Regions from separate parts of the Homo sapiens genome. Here region 2 is linked to region 1. Evidence: promoter capture Hi-C in human tissues and cell types (Jung and others, 2019). All regions are on one chromosome and are shown on one strand. Each heading gives the region's core, a stretch centred on a gene start or on the middle of the fragment in contact. The rest is flanking DNA. Distances are from core to core; before and after follow the strand shown. Region 1 holds the start of VAV2 (vav guanine nucleotide exchange factor 2). Region 2 overlaps FAM163B (family with sequence similarity 163 member B).

Evidence for each region. The method cuts DNA at HindIII sites, captures the fragments that hold promoters and counts their contacts. A contact is called where the count stands out against the background at its distance.
Region 2: a fragment that was not itself captured here is called in contact with the fragment with the promoter of VAV2 in region 1 in 1 of the 25 tissues and cell types used here (mesendoderm cells).

Annotation. Positions count from the first base shown.
Region 1 is chr9:133,990,940-133,993,746 of GRCh38, reverse strand. It overlaps VAV2 (vav guanine nucleotide exchange factor 2), which reads left to right and starts at 1,423. Exons shown (of 30, transcript NM_001134398.2): 1 at 1,423-1,672. The coding sequence starts at 1,469. RefSeq lists enhancers at 111-300, 197-924, 1,653-2,380, 2,381-2,807 and silencers at 711-1,020, 1,121-1,220, 1,281-1,430, 1,701-1,790, 1,831-2,270. The HindIII fragment of the contact is 15,000 bases long and covers 1-2,807 here.
Region 2 is chr9:133,594,729-133,597,428 of GRCh38, reverse strand. All of the region lies in intron 1 of FAM163B (family with sequence similarity 163 member B), which reads left to right. Among named protein-coding and RNA genes, the nearest start is that of FAM163B, 13 kb to the left of the region's middle. The HindIII fragment of the contact is 4,184 bases long and covers 1-2,700 here.

The sequences.
Region 1 (2,807 bases), core at 174-2,673:
GAGTCCAGGGTGGGAGCCCTCAGACACCGCACCCCAGCCTCCGGGCTGAGCCAGTCTCAGAGAAGGGCTTGGACTTGCCTGGTGTCCCCCAGTGAATCAGCAGTGAAAACCCGCGGTTCCCGGCAGCTGAGCCAGGATCCATATAATTTCAGTTGCAGAATCTGTTTGTCCTTGAAGCCCCTCCTACCGTCACACGTTGCCAGCTGGACAGACCGCGCCCCCACCACCCAGGGTGTGGCCTAGAAGGGAGATCAGGGCGGATCAGCACCGGGGCCGGCTGCGACCCTGGGCCGGAGAGCACCTTCCTGCCCTCACTCATGTCACGCATTCCGCCCTGGACGCCAGGAACTGCCCGCTGGGCAGCTGCGAGTGGCCAGGACTTTGGCCAAAAGCTGGGGAATCCTGGCCTTTATGCAGGGTCGGGGGTCTTCCTATGGGCCCCCGGCCAGGGCGGAGGACAGGAAGAGGGCTCTGGGAGTCCTGGGCCCGTGTGCCTTCAGCCTCAGCCTCGGGTATCCCGCCGGGGCGGCTTGATGGGCCAAGGGGGCTCAGTAAGCTTCGGCCCAGCCCGGTGCCCTCTCCCGAGTCTGTCGTTACCGAACGGCCATGCGAGGGCGCCCAGCGCGACAGGGACCACCTCCTGACCTCCACGGAGGACCAAAGGCACCCGGGGGGACGCCCGGCCATCACTCCACGGGCGAGGTCGCTCCCCCAGGGAGAAGGGCTCCCCAAAGTCCGAGCGCCCTTGGAGAAAGTCGGCCGGACCTGGGCCTGCGCCGCAACCCCCGCCCACCGCAACTTTCGCGGGCGGTAGCGGGGCAGGAAGTGGGGGGGCGGGGGCGGCGCTTGGGACACGGGGAGGTGCCAGGCGAGTGCTCCGGCCCCGCCCCTGCCCCGCCCGGCCGTGGCCGCGCCCCCTGCGCCCCCAGCGCCCCGGAGCCGTGGAGCCGCCGAGCCGCCGAGTCGTCGAGTCGCAGCGCCGGGCGTGGGGACTGCGGGTGGGGCGAACAAAGCGGCGGCGACGCGGGCGGCCCAGGCCCGGGACGCGCGGAGCGAGCGACCCCGCCGGGCCTTTGTCTCGGGCGGGGCAGGAGCCGCGGCGGCCGCGGGGCGCCCCGAGCGCAGAATGCGGCGCCCGGCGGCGCGGATTGGGGAGCGCTGCGGCGACTGGCTGCGTGGAGCCCGGCCCGGGGCCCGCAGGCACTTGCGTGTGTGAAGCGGGGAGATCCGGCGCGCTGCCCGTTGCCCGCCCCGCGGCCGCACGTGGGCGGGAGCGGCGGCCCGAGAGGAGCCCGAGGAGTAGGAGGAGGAAGAGGAGGGGACGCACGGCGGCGCAGCGGGGGACCTGGGGCAGCCCGCGCGAAGCCCCGCCCCGGCCCTGAGCCCCGCGCGCGCGCGGGCGGGATGCCCCGCGGCCGCTGCACTTTGGCTCGAGCACTGCCCTGAGCCGGTCGGGCCCGCGGGCGCCATGGAGCAGTGGCGGCAGTGCGGCCGCTGGCTCATCGATTGCAAGGTCCTGCCGCCCAACCACCGGGTGGTGTGGCCCTCGGCCGTGGTCTTCGACCTGGCGCAGGCGCTGCGCGACGGGGTCCTTCTGTGCCAGCTGCTGCACAACCTCTCCCCCGGCTCCATCGACCTCAAGGACATCAACTTCCGGCCGCAGATGTCCCAGGTGAGCGCCCGGCGGGCGGGAGGGCCCCGGGGAGGCGGCGTTCGCGCTGCCCGACGCGCGGACTGAACGCGGAGGTCGCAGCGGCGGCGGCCCAGGCGCCCTGGCTGGGGCGGCCGGGCTCCGGGACGCGGGCGGGCGGCTGGAGGGTGCGCCCCGGGCCTCCGAGACGCGACCTCAGGAGGCGCGAAGTTGGCCAAAGTCCCCTCAGCCTGGGTCGCGCCGCCGCCGCCCGCGGGCACTGCTCTGGTGCGCCGGTTCCGCGGTCTGCGCGGCCTGGGATGGGGGAGGCTCCGGCGCTGCGCTCGCTCTGCGGGGCCCTGCGAGTGGCCCCTCATTTCCCAGGGAGCCTGCCGAGCCGGGTGTGCGCGTCGTGGGTCGCATCCTTGGGCCTCGCGCCTCCTGGCCGGACGCCGGTGGAAGAGCGGGCGCGGTCGCTGCGCCGGCCCGGGGCGCGGCTGGAGGGCCCGGGAGGGGCGCGGGGCGGGAGCCCTCGGGGCCGGAGGGAGCTGGGTTGGCCCCGGGCACCGCCCCCTCGCCGGCCTCCGCCTCTTCCCGGACCCGGACCCGGGCCACTTGGCGCCAGTCCTGGCTCCCGGGTCGAGCCGCCTCGAGGATCCCCAGGGCCACTTGGCCCCAGTCCTGGCCCCCATCGCTTTCCCAACACCCCCACCCCTCCTTCGGGCGCTGAGTGTGGCCTTTGTCGCGGCGGAGGCACGCGTGCGGCCGCAGGGCCAGGCAGGAAAATGCCTGCCCAGCCGAACGAAGCTGCTTTTCTTGGCCTCTTAAGAGGGAACTTGGCTAAGACTTGAGAGAATCGAGGCTTCCGTCCTGTTCTCCGGGGGTCGCGGAATCCTTACCGGGAGCAGCTTAGAAGAGGTCGGGGGAGGCAGAGCGGGTGGCAGCCGGGTCCACCCAGCGCCGAGGAGGTGCGGTCTTCCAGCCAGCTCAGCAGCCCCTCACCGCGCGCAGTGGCAACTCCATGTGGAGAGGGACCATTCACCAGTGGGACTTAGGACGTGGTTCCTGGGAAGGAGGGAGAGTGAGTCACCAGCGATTCCAGGCTGGGCAGCGAGGCCTCTGCCCTTTGGCGGTGACTGCGTTTCCTAGGAGACCGGGCCTTTCTCTGCCGGGTTGG
Region 2 (2,700 bases), core at 140-2,639, 400 kb after region 1:
GGATCCCTTCTATTGCTCTCTGCAAGTTCACTAATGTTTTCTTCTGTAATATCTAGTCTGAGGTTAATTCCATCCACTGCATTTTTCATCTTAGGCATTGTCATGTTTTCATCTCTAGAAGTTCGGTTGGTTCTTTTTCCTATCTTCTATGTCTCTACTTCATATGCTCAAGTTTTCCTCTGGTGTTTTGAACATATAAGCTACAGTTAATAACTATTTTAATACCCTTGTCTCCTAATTCTATCATCTGTGCCACTTCGGGGTTAGTTCCAATGAATTGATTTTCTGTTCACTGTGGTTTGTATTTTTCTGCTTCTTTCCATGCCAGGTAATTTGTTACTGGATGCCAGATATTTTGAATTCCACTTCATTGTTATATTGCAATACATATTTGTGATGTCTGTTCTGGGATGCAGCTCAGTTATTGGGAAATAGTTTGATCCTTTCAGGCCTTGCTTTTAAGCTTTGTTAGGCAAGTCTAGAGCAGCTCTACCCAGTGCTTCATGAATTAGAACCTTCCCTGATTGGTGGGAAGAGGAACTATTTCTGGACCTGTGAGAGCTTCAAATATTGTTCCCTGGAATCCTATCAGCTAGTTCTTTCTCTGGCCTCAGGTAGTTTTGCTCACATTTGAGTCACTGTTCAGCCAGCTACTCATGGGGGACCCTCTGCAGAGCCCTGTGGCTCCACGGTCCCCCACGGAGCAGCAGGCTCCTCCCCAGTTCTGTGTCCTGTGACCTCCGGCTACTTTGGCCTCCTTGGGCTATCATCTCTCTCTGCAACTCAGGGAGAGCAGCGGGCTGCACCTGAGCTCCCTGCACCATAGCCTGGGATTCCAGCTGGAGGGAGCTGGGGCCACCACAGGGCCCTCCTTGTCTCTCCCCCATGGCTTGAGGAGTGCTTTCCTTCATCACTGGTGTCACCTTCAAGCAGGAGGGCAAGCCTGGGCCCCATTACCCCATCTTGGCTGAAACTCTGGCTAATGCTGCTTTGCACGACAAGGGTGAGCCACCCCCGCCCCCGCCCACCAGTTATGGGGAGACTTCTACTGTCATCTCCATTTTATCAAACTGAAACATGGAGGAACGAAGAAACTTAGCCAAGGTGATGCACAGCCCAGATTCAAGTGGCAGCCACCGTGCTGCTCCCAGACAGGAGCATGGCAAACTCGGGGGCTCCCCGCACAGCCGCCCGGGCCAGAAGCCTCTGGTTTCCCAGGACTCCTCCCTGCTCCCCATCAAACCACCAACAAGCCCTATTGGTGCTCCCTCCCACTCATCCCCCCATCCCCTTCTCTCCAGCCCACCACCTCCTCCCTCTTGATGACCATGACAGCCTCTGAACGGCTTCCTCCCACTCTGCCTCCACACCCACCCCACCATGCCTGCCTTGCACCCGCAGCCACAGAGCCACTACCAAAAGCAGAACCAGTCCAGTTACTCTCCTGGCCAGCCCCCTTCTGACCCTTGCCCTGAACACATTCACTTCTCATTCGGCTGAGAGTCACCAGGTGCCCACCATGGGCCCAGGACACCATTCCAGGCACCAGAATAAAGAGACCGAGCCCCTGTCCTCAGCAACTCAAATTCCAGAGGGAAGAAACAGACAGTAAATGAACATATAATATGCCAAGTATGGGGTAAAGGTACAAACCAGGCAGGTTAAGGGGGTGGAGAGCAACCATGGAGCAGGGGATATTTTTGATATGTGGCCTGGAAGCTGTAAAGTGGGGGAAGCCACTGTGGGAAGGGTGGAATGGGAACGGGTGGACATGGGGAAGGAAGGGGAACCTGAGGCCTGACCCTGGGCCCCTTCACACTTAGAGGTCAGGAGAGTAGGAGAAGCCAGCCAAGGAGGGAGGGGGAGATCGGGGAGAGCACAATGCCCCAGAAGCCAAGGGCTACAGCCCCTTGTCCTCAAAGTGTGGTCCGAGGATGCCGCACCAGCAGCACCAGATGCTTGTTAAAAATGCACAGTCCTGGCCGGGTGCAGTGGCTCACGCCTGTAATCCCAGCACTTTGGGAGGCCGAGGCAGGAGGATCATCACTTGAGGTCAAGAGTTGGAGGACAGCCTGGCCAACATGGCAAAACCTCGTCTCTACTAAAACCACAAAAATTAGCCGGGTGTGCTGGCATGCACCTGTAGTCCCAGCTACTTGGCAGGTTGAGGCAGGAGAATCACTTGAACCTGGGAGGCAGAGGTTGCAATGAGCTGAGATCGTGCCATTGCACTCCAGCCTGGGTGACAGAGGGAGACTCCGTCTCAAAAACATAACAAACAAAAACAAATGCACAGTCCTGCAGCCCCGCTCCCCAGGCTACTCGATGCACGTTAAAATGTGAGGAAGACTGACCTGGAAAGTGTTTTGGAGAGGAAGGAGCAGCACCAAGCTGTGACAGGGAAGGCAGGGACAGGGCTCCAGGAAGGCTGGCTCAGGCACCAACGCCCTGCTGCCTGCGGGGTCTCTGCTGACCTCGCCCCTCTTGTCTTGTCCCCCTCCTGCTCTTATACTCCAAGCAAGATGGGCTTCTCCAGGTCCTGCCTTGCCCTGCCTGCCTCTGGGCCTTTGCAAGTGCCATTTCCTGCCCAGGGTGCTCTTTCCCATCTTCTCGCTACTCATCCTCAGGTTTCAGCATCTGGGCCCCTCACTCAGGGTCACTTCTCCTGGCTGCCACCCCTGTTAACACTCCCCATTCTTC